Regions from separate parts of the Homo sapiens genome. Here regions 1 and 2 are each linked to region 3. Evidence: promoter capture Hi-C in 16 types of primary human blood cells and fetal thymus (Javierre and others, 2016). All regions are on one chromosome and are shown on one strand. The core of a region is centred on a gene start or on the middle of the fragment in contact, and the rest is flanking DNA. Distances in the headings are between cores, read along the strand shown.

Region 1 (2,987 bases), core at 246-2,745, 310 kb after region 3:
TAATTGCTCTTTTCAGCTATATAAAACAACAGCTTGCAGCTTAAAGTGTATTTGTTCGCTGATTCAAGTATTTATTAAATGCTTCTCTCCTGTCCTGCAATATTCTCGGAAGCAAGAATCAGCTGTGCACATAGCAGACAACAGGCGTCCCCCTCCTGGAGTCTGCATTCCAGTAGAGAAAGACCTTGGAATCTCCCAACTAAACCAAGATGCTAGATAACATTTCTCACCAAACCTTACTTTAAAAGTTATCACTGAGCTAACAAGAACATGGAAAGAAAAGAGCAACAAAGCTGGCTTTTTCCCTTTGTGGTTCTGCTAAACCACAGAATTCTTAAAAGTTTCTCTGGTAATGCAGTTTTCATTTTGCTGAGGTTGAATTACTGACACTTTTTTTATGGTTAGCTATTTTTTAAAAAAAATCATAGAACCTTTTAAAAAAGACGTTTTCTTCCAAAAGTTTTTAAATTTTCCTTTTCACATTTATGTACTTTATCCCTCTGAAACTGACTTTGGACATGGCGTGAGGTAGGAATTCTATTTCATTTTTTTCCATATGGCTAAGTACTTGTCCCACAGAAATGTGTTGAACAATACATTGTTTCCTTGTCAGACCTGACAAGCCACATATATCATATATCATGATTCCATGTCTGTGTGCACTCAGTGCTATATTTTATCTTCTGTTCCATCCGTCTATTTGTCTATCTCTATGATTACAACTTTAAGTAAATGTCATAGAATTTATCACATTATTTGTGACTATTAGGATAAATGTTGTGTCTTCTGTCCTTTTTATAAGCTCTTAAAAACTATAGTGGCTTATGACTTATTCATCTTTTTATTTCTCAGAGCATCTAAATCAGTATTTCTAGACTATAAGCTTATTTGTTAAATAAGGGATGAGGTAAATGACAATACTGATTCTTAGCTGTAGACTCATAAATGTCCCCCTCCCCTGACTATTTCAACAGAACTAAATGTATGCATGTCTTAAGTATATTTTCTTATTTTCTGTCTTCTCAATGCTCTGGCATTAGGGCCTCACTGATCAGGGAAGGACTGCCACTTCCAGGGTTAGCTAATTCCTAGAGATAGAAGTCTATTCACCAGGCAGCATGTCTTTCACATGCAAACCTACCAATTCAAAATTCAGACCCTCCAACTACCTCCTTTCTCTAGTTCTCACATACTAAGTCAATATCCCCTGCCCTGTCATCCTAGGACTGGGTACCAGGAAACTAGAAACAGCCCGTATGCTCCAGAGCCCACTGAAGTCATTCATATTAGTAATCCTAAAACTGCATACCCTGCCTTGCCTTGCTATTTCCATAGAAATGACACTAAAAGCGGTTGCCCCATTTTGTTCCTTCTGCCTCCTGGTACTTCCCTGCATGACCCCTGTTTCCAGGGATCCGTGAGTATAAACTTCTTCCTCCATGACAATCATTTCCATGTCTGTATGTCTTACCACATCTGATTAAAACAAATCCCAGGTAAACTTTAAGACAATGCACAGTAAATTTAGCTGTTATTTTCAGCAAACATGATTTAATGAGAAAGCAAATATAAAAGTAAACAGTTTGCCAGTGATGAAGGAATTTAAGATTTTGGAGGCAGTTTATTATTCTAAGCATTTGATAACTGGTAGGATTATTCAATAAGAAACAAAGATATAATCAAATTGTTTCTCTTTGCATGTCCTAAAAATCAGGCTCATATGAGTTTTATTTTGAACATTTATGAAGAAATTGCTCTCTTAAGAACAGAAAGTTAAATTCAGAACTGTGATAATCCTTAAGCCTTATCACATTACAGTTTGTCCTTTTCACAGATGACAAGGTGAACTATTGAACTGCGTGTACTGATTCTCTATATTAGTATTTCAAAGAAGAACGGAGTATTTGGAGGAGTTAATCACAACATGGAGTGCATCATATAAAATTACCTCACAGAGGTTTATTAAATTGAGCTGTCCAATACATACCCTGAAATGGGATCAAAACTAATCTTTCCAAAGAACAGACAAAAGAAGTAATCACCTAATTTTCTTCCCTTTCAATAAAAATAATTAAAACTAGTCCATGTTTAAGTAAATTCAACCTACTGAAGCTTCAGTTTTGCCTCCTACAGTACCACAATGATGACTTTCTTTTGGATAATCTGTAAGGATTCTCAAGTAGGTCAAAGGGCTTTACAGTAATTTTAATTTTAACAGGAACACAGTGTAAAGGAGTAGACATAGCACTGCACGTTGAGTCAAAACATTTTGGAAGCCAGTTTCATCTCTGGAACTCACACTCCAGCTTGATAACAATTTCTCTGGGTCTCAATCTCCCCATCTCTAAAACAGACATGATAAGACTTGGCCTGCTTCCCATACAGAATCAAAGAGAATGCCTCAAAATTCTTTGTAAATGTTGAATCTCATATCAATGTATAGTATTATTAGTCAAAATCATTATTTAGTCTATAAAGAATTTTACTGAATACCACCTTCATATGTTAATTTTATGAAGTTTTAATGACATTCTATCAAGAATTTCCCAAATATCAGAGACGTTAGTTAAATTTTAAATCACAGTGAAAACCAGTTTGCTTGGTTTAAAAAAAAAAATCCATTTAAGGTCAAATTTTAGCCTTTATGTTAATCATTTTAAAATATTTTTTGGCATTTTAATAACACTCTTAACATGTTACTTTGTGGTGGTTGTTTTCATACAAGATACCTGTGTGTGAACATGAATGTGCATCCATAAAAGTCTTGGCTCTGGTCAGCCTTTCCCGCACTGATTCCTCAGACCACGAGTCTCTCCTGACACTCCACAAAACAAAGCAAAACCAAACCCAGCTCCTCCATGGCCTCCCCGTTCTCATCAGCCTGGTCAAACAGGTGAGGGAAACTGACCTTTGAGGTTGACTTACCCAGTGTCACACAGTGTGTGTGTGTGTGTGTGTGTGTGTGTGTGTGTGTCTGTGTGTGTGTA
Region 2 (2,839 bases), core at 80-2,579, 300 kb after region 3:
AACCTAAGTCAAACTTGGAAGTTTTGTTTATTGCTACAGTAAACTCCCCTTATATTCAATAATATTTCATTAACTTGAGTAAAGTAAATTCAGGTCAGAAGTTGTATTTTTAGAAAAATAAAAGGACTTGTTTTTAAGTGCTACATTACTTTCAGAAATAATTAGTAACAAATATATGTCTTGGCTAACAAAAACATCAATTACAGAGCCCTTTAGATGTCCCATTTTAATAATTATAAATACATTTACAATTTGCATACCAACTGCTTGAATTCCAACAGAATTAGAAAATATGTTCTCTTAAGTACAGAGAAAATGTCCCTGGAAATCTTTCCTGCACATTTCTAATTCCTAACAGGCAAGAATTCTTTGGGGACACCCCTTGGTGTATCCTCGGATGCACCCATTTGGCCTGTCCTATGCTATAATGTCCAAGGTGAGGAAGGGTCATCAAGACATGAGTCGAAACTTACAGTCCCTTTATCCTATCATGCCCACATGTCTTCCTTTTCTCAATTCATCTTCTTGCCTTTCTGAACCAACATTTGCCTTGACAGATAATGGGAATCGTGCCAGGACACTACTTTCTCAGGATGCTTACCAATCAGTACTACATCCTACCTCTCCAACATATTTCTCACACACAGACAAACACACACACACACACATGCACAAAACACATATGTGCATATATATACAAAATATATACACATATAATGAATTATACACATAGACACACACACACACAAACCCCATCTGTGCCTCAGTCCTTGTTAGCCCTCATTACCTTGCCCCTGGGCTATTATAATAATTTCCTTTCTGTGTTTGTTGTCATCATTCTTTCATGATTATAATTCACCCCCACTTTATCACTGTGGTTTAAGCTTCTTAAAATGCTCTTGTGGTCATGTGGAGTATCATGCTCAAAAACCTTCAACAGCTCCCCACTGTCCATGGGATGAAAACTACTTTGAATCAAGGCTCTCTACAGTGCTGCCTGGATTCATGACCATATATTATTTCTACGCATATATCTGGCATTAAATCAAAGCCACTCTAGTCATTGTTCCTGAACACAGCCTGAAAAGTTCTGTATCTTTGATGTGAAACTCCATCATGCTTCTTGTCCTGCTATTTAAATCCTATCCATTCTTGAAAGTCCTGCTAAATCCCCTCTCCTTTGTGAGCTGCTTTCAAATCAACTTAGCTAAAAGGATATTCAACAGTTCAATTTTCATAACATGTATATCACTACTTATTTGGTCTTCTGCACAAGTTGATGGTTAGTACAGATACTTGTTTATGCATCTCACACTCTCATAACCTGACTAGGTCTTTACCATGGCAGGAAAAAATATTCAACATAAAAAGATCATTGAACTTTGTGCCACATTTAGGAAGGAGTGATGTGACCCTAATAATAAAGTGCCTAAAAATAAATCAGAGGATCTAAGAATGCTTAATGGGAAAGGGTCTGAGAGGCTCTCTAGCCCAATTCATTCACTTGACTACTTGTGGATAGGTGAGGGCCCCATGGCCAGTGAGTGACAAAGCTGAGTCTAGCTCTAAGGTATTTTAGTTCCCAGTATCAGGCCTGCCATCCATGAGAGTCATATGTTATTCTTGAAAGTCAATATATTCTGAAGCCATCTTATATCCTGAATTCTTGGAAGTACATTTTCCAATTCTTAGAAACCTTAGGAATAAGGCCCCACATTAGTCCTATTTTTACTTGTTGTATAAACCTATAGTTTTTTTTAAACTGTTTTTAAATGAAGCTTTAACAAAGTTAGCCTTCTAAAGGTCTAAAGTTCCTCTACTGATACACATCAAAGTTATTATTTCATCCTCGGAACATCAGTTAGATCTTTAAATTCACAAATAAGTACTTTATCTGCTAGTGTTGAGTTAAAATCCTATAAATTAAAACCTTGGTAAAATCACTTGCTGTACAGAATGAGCACTTTAGAGACATGTATTAAAATTATTTCCAGGGATTTGAGATAAACAAGGCCTCCAATTTGCCATCCTAATTCTTTACCTTTCCTGGAACTGAATACTCACTTATGTTTCACCTTAAATATACTTTGAAATTTATGTTTATCTAACATATATGGTTCCATAGTAACAAGTCTAAATTTTCAGCAAAGAACAATTCTTTGTCTGAGAAAAGGTGATGCAATTATTACATATGACTGCATGATACAGGCTGTCTGGGGTTATTAAAAGAGTCAGGTATGGCCAATTTACAAGTATCACCCCTGCACCTTGCTTTCAAAGCTCACTGCTGAGTCTTAATGCTCACTGAGGGGCCTCATGGGATCTTTTTACAAACGACTGTTTATTATTATATTATTCCATCATATACCTCATGAGAGGGGGTTGTAACACCCGTTAAGAAAATCATGAACTACTTTGACTTCTGTGATAGAATACTGCTCTATATATGATGTTTAAAATTATGGTTTTTTTTAACATTGATGTGACAAAACGTTCATAAAAATGTGGAGTTAAATGAAAGCAAAATGTTCCTACAAGCTAAATATTATTGCCTACAAAATAAGTGGCTAAAATTTTAAAAATACAAAAATTAAATTAATGCTCAAGTGCATTCAGCAACTGAAATATGAACCAGTGTTGATCATGTATTGCCAGTGACCAGCACAGCACTTTGCAGAGCAGTTACTGGCTGAGCCAGGGTCTTACTTGCAGGCAAGAGAATCCACTGTTTTGAGATTAAGAAGAAAGAGACTTCTATGAGGGTGTTAGATGGTCTGGAGAATGTCTAGAAGTGCCAGGGAACCAATCACAAATCTCCACAGCCAGGAAAAAGCTGGTA
Region 3 (2,934 bases), core at 353-2,852:
TATATGATACTTGAGTTTCATTGCTGGGCTTTCAAATCCCTTTTCATACTGCAGAAAGCCTAGTGATCTTTCCAGAACTGCATTTTGAAAAGAATATAGCTGTTGCAGCATTGCTTCTGAGACATCTACAGTACCATACTTGGCTGAAGCTCCAAGCCATTTCTTTGATAATTTCAGCTCTACTCTATCTCAGTGTCACTTGTATCCAGCATAGTGCCTGGCACATAGTAAATGCAAAATAAATGTTTTACTGAATGTAAGTGAAGACAGTTCAGGATGTAACTCTTTTCCTTACCTCCCACATGGTGAGTTTTATCAAAACTTTTTGCATTCGGCCTACCTGGAAATAGATGGTCAATTGAGATGAAGACAAGAGAACCCTTGAATGAAATTGAAGCTATTCTTTAAAAATTCATCCTTAGTAATGAGAGTAATAACATGCTGGCTACACAGGATGAGTTAAGCTCCTCCTCACGAATAACAGACATTTATAAAGTCAGTCTAGCTCAGGTTCTGGAGTCACGTGACTTGGGTTCAAATCTTGGGTCTGCCGTTTCCCTGGGCAAGTTACTTAACTGCTTTGTGTCTCAGATTCTAGATAATATCTACCTCACATGGGTTGCTGAGAGGGTGAAAAGAGATAAATGAGATTACATGCCATACTCAGGACAGTCTCTCATACATAGAAAGAGTTTCATAGAGGCTGCCATTAGCATTGCTCTTACTTCTATGTGTGATGGAATTAAAGGTACCCTAGAGTAGAAGTCTCAGCCCTTGCCACCAGGGCCCTGATGAAGTTGAGGATATCAGTCTCTATTTAAAGACAGGGATCCGTGTACACCAGGTGCCAGTCAGCTATAGAGGCACTGTGGCCTTCAGGAGAGCCCTGGAGGCTGTGAAGTTTGGAGAAGGCCTCCCCGAGAAAGGAGGATTTGAGCTCAGTCTTGAAGAGGGACAGGATAAGAAGAGAGAGAGGCTGGGGGAGTTTGGATTGTGTCCAAAAGACACTGGGCCAACAACGTGGGCTGGGCAGAGTCTGTGAAGGGCAGCAGCAGGAGATGAAGCCAGAGGCATGGGCAGGGACAGACACTGGCGGGCCGCAAGCACCCAGCCACGTCCAAGTTTAACTGGTTACCTTTTAGGGATGGGAGCTGACCAGGCGGGTGCCGCTGTACACACATAGCACTTTGGGAAAATGGCCTTTCCATCTGTAGTACCCATGCCAGCAGAGAGAAGGTGACCACGGGAGAATGGCTTACCATGGATGGCAGTAGCCAATAGGGGCGAGGCAGCTGTGGATGCAGGAGCTAGCTGGAAGTGGCCACCCTTGCTGCATGTGGTGGTCTTGCTGACACAGCCACTGCTAGCTTATTTCCAAGTCAGCGATGAGATGGTGGTGTTGCAGGGCTTTTCCGTAGTTCAGCTAAAGATGGGGTCCTTGTCCGTCCCGTGGCCACGAAAACGTAGCCTCGCAGACGGTTTGAAGGGTGAGTTAAACAGGGTTTTACTGGGTGAAAGGAAAAAAATGGGGTGGAGGAGGGGGAAGCAGGATCCTCCGCAAGGCAAGCCGGCTACTTGATTCCCAGGTTCCACACAGGAAGAGGAGGGGCCAGGCTCCTCCCCACTGCAGATGGCATGCATTTCCGGAGGCTCCACCCCAATGTGCAGGCTGGTTGGAGTTTTTCTAGGGACTCCCTCCCACCTGCCTGTCTCATTGGCATTTGAAGCCAGAAGCTAGAAGTCTGGCACATGATGGAAAGCAAGGAGCAGGGCTGTGCTTATGCACGTTTGAAAAGTCGCATGGAGCCATCCGTGACCGTCCTGGACATTTCAGTCCTTGCTTTTTCTTCATGTCACCCTAATAACACCAGGAGGAATGTGGACAGTTTTCATCATAGTTTATTTTTACTCCCTCAGTGCTAATTTCCCCTTTTTTAAATACTTTAGCATGTGAGTTGGGGCAAGGGAGCCAAGGACAGTGAAAAATAGTTTCATCGTGTCCCACTGGCTGTGGTTGGGTGACATGTCCCTCCGGGAACCACACCCTGAATCCTAACAAACACCAGTGCTGATGTTACTGAAGCCCAGGGATGTGAGGGGAGAATGGTGGATGGATTGTTCTAGAACAGTGGATATTGGGCATCAAGAACAAGAGATACTCCCAGGAGGAAGTCGGCTCTCCTTTGAACTTCTACCCATTGCAGACGCACACAGATACCACCCCAGAGAGTAGCTCCTTCCCACAGTCACTGTTGTATTTCACATCTTCTGCTTCCAAAGGAGAACACAGTGGTTCTGTGATGGAATTAGTCCATCCAGAGGACATGGTTTTCCGGGCTCTAGAGTTGGATGGATTTATAGAAGTAAATTACCCTAAACTATTAGAACTGCTCTAGTGCCATGGAGAAGAGCTGACATCACAGGCTCAAATGCTGCTTTCAACTGCAAACAAAACCTGGAGTGTTCTGCTGGGGGGTTTCTGATAGAACCCAGCAACCCGATACATTATAACAATTTATGGCACTAATTGAAACTAATTGAAATTCATCTGCTATTACCTCTGTACTTTCCATGAAAATGAAAAGTAGGATGAAAGTAAAGTAAAAAAAATAAACTACCTTAATGGCTCAAAATGGATCAATTATTTTCATCTTTAGCTAAATACAGTTTACTGCCTTATTAAAAGCATGTTTGTAGGAAAAGTATAACATTAAAATTCCACTGCATGCATCATCGAACAGAGGCTTTGTTATGTTATATCTAATATATTCTTCCCTTTTTATTCAGCAGAGCAGAACGGGACAGGTCACGTTTTGGGCATAGAAATCTTATGCTTTGGCTTCTAAAAAGTAAAAAGCGCATTGTCTGGTTCTATTCGTGGGCTATATATATATATATATATATATATATATACACACACACACACACACATAC

The links. Contacts are between HindIII fragments. The CHiCAGO score rates a contact against its expected background, and 5 or more counts as called.
Region 1: a fragment that was not itself captured here is called in contact with the fragment with the promoter of CFAP61-AS1 in region 3 in 1 of 17 cell types (M1 macrophages); the score reaches 6.6 in M1 macrophages.
Region 2: a contact is called between a fragment that was not itself captured here and the fragment with the promoter of CFAP61-AS1 in region 3, in 5 of 17 cell types (M1 macrophages, fetal thymus, M2 macrophages and 2 more). The highest score is 10.5, in M1 macrophages.

Annotation. Positions count from the first base shown.
Region 1 is chr20:20,579,224-20,582,210 of GRCh38, forward strand. The region is part of intron 20 of RALGAPA2 (Ral GTPase activating protein catalytic subunit alpha 2); the gene reads right to left. Among named protein-coding and RNA genes, the nearest start is that of RALGAPA2, 130 kb to the right of the region's middle. The HindIII fragment of the contact is 1,229 bases long and covers 882-2,110 here.
Region 2 is chr20:20,563,176-20,566,014 of GRCh38, forward strand. The region is part of intron 23 of RALGAPA2 (Ral GTPase activating protein catalytic subunit alpha 2); the gene reads right to left. Among named protein-coding and RNA genes, the nearest start is that of RALGAPA2, 150 kb to the right of the region's middle. The HindIII fragment of the contact is 894 bases long and covers 883-1,776 here.
Region 3 is chr20:20,266,235-20,269,168 of GRCh38, forward strand. It overlaps CFAP61-AS1 (CFAP61 antisense RNA 1), which reads right to left and starts at 1,603. Exons shown (of 4, transcript NR_183979.1): 1 at 1,260-1,603. All of the region lies in intron 21 of CFAP61 (cilia and flagella associated protein 61), which reads left to right. RefSeq lists an enhancer at 832-1,332. The HindIII fragment of the contact is 5,830 bases long and covers 1-2,934 here.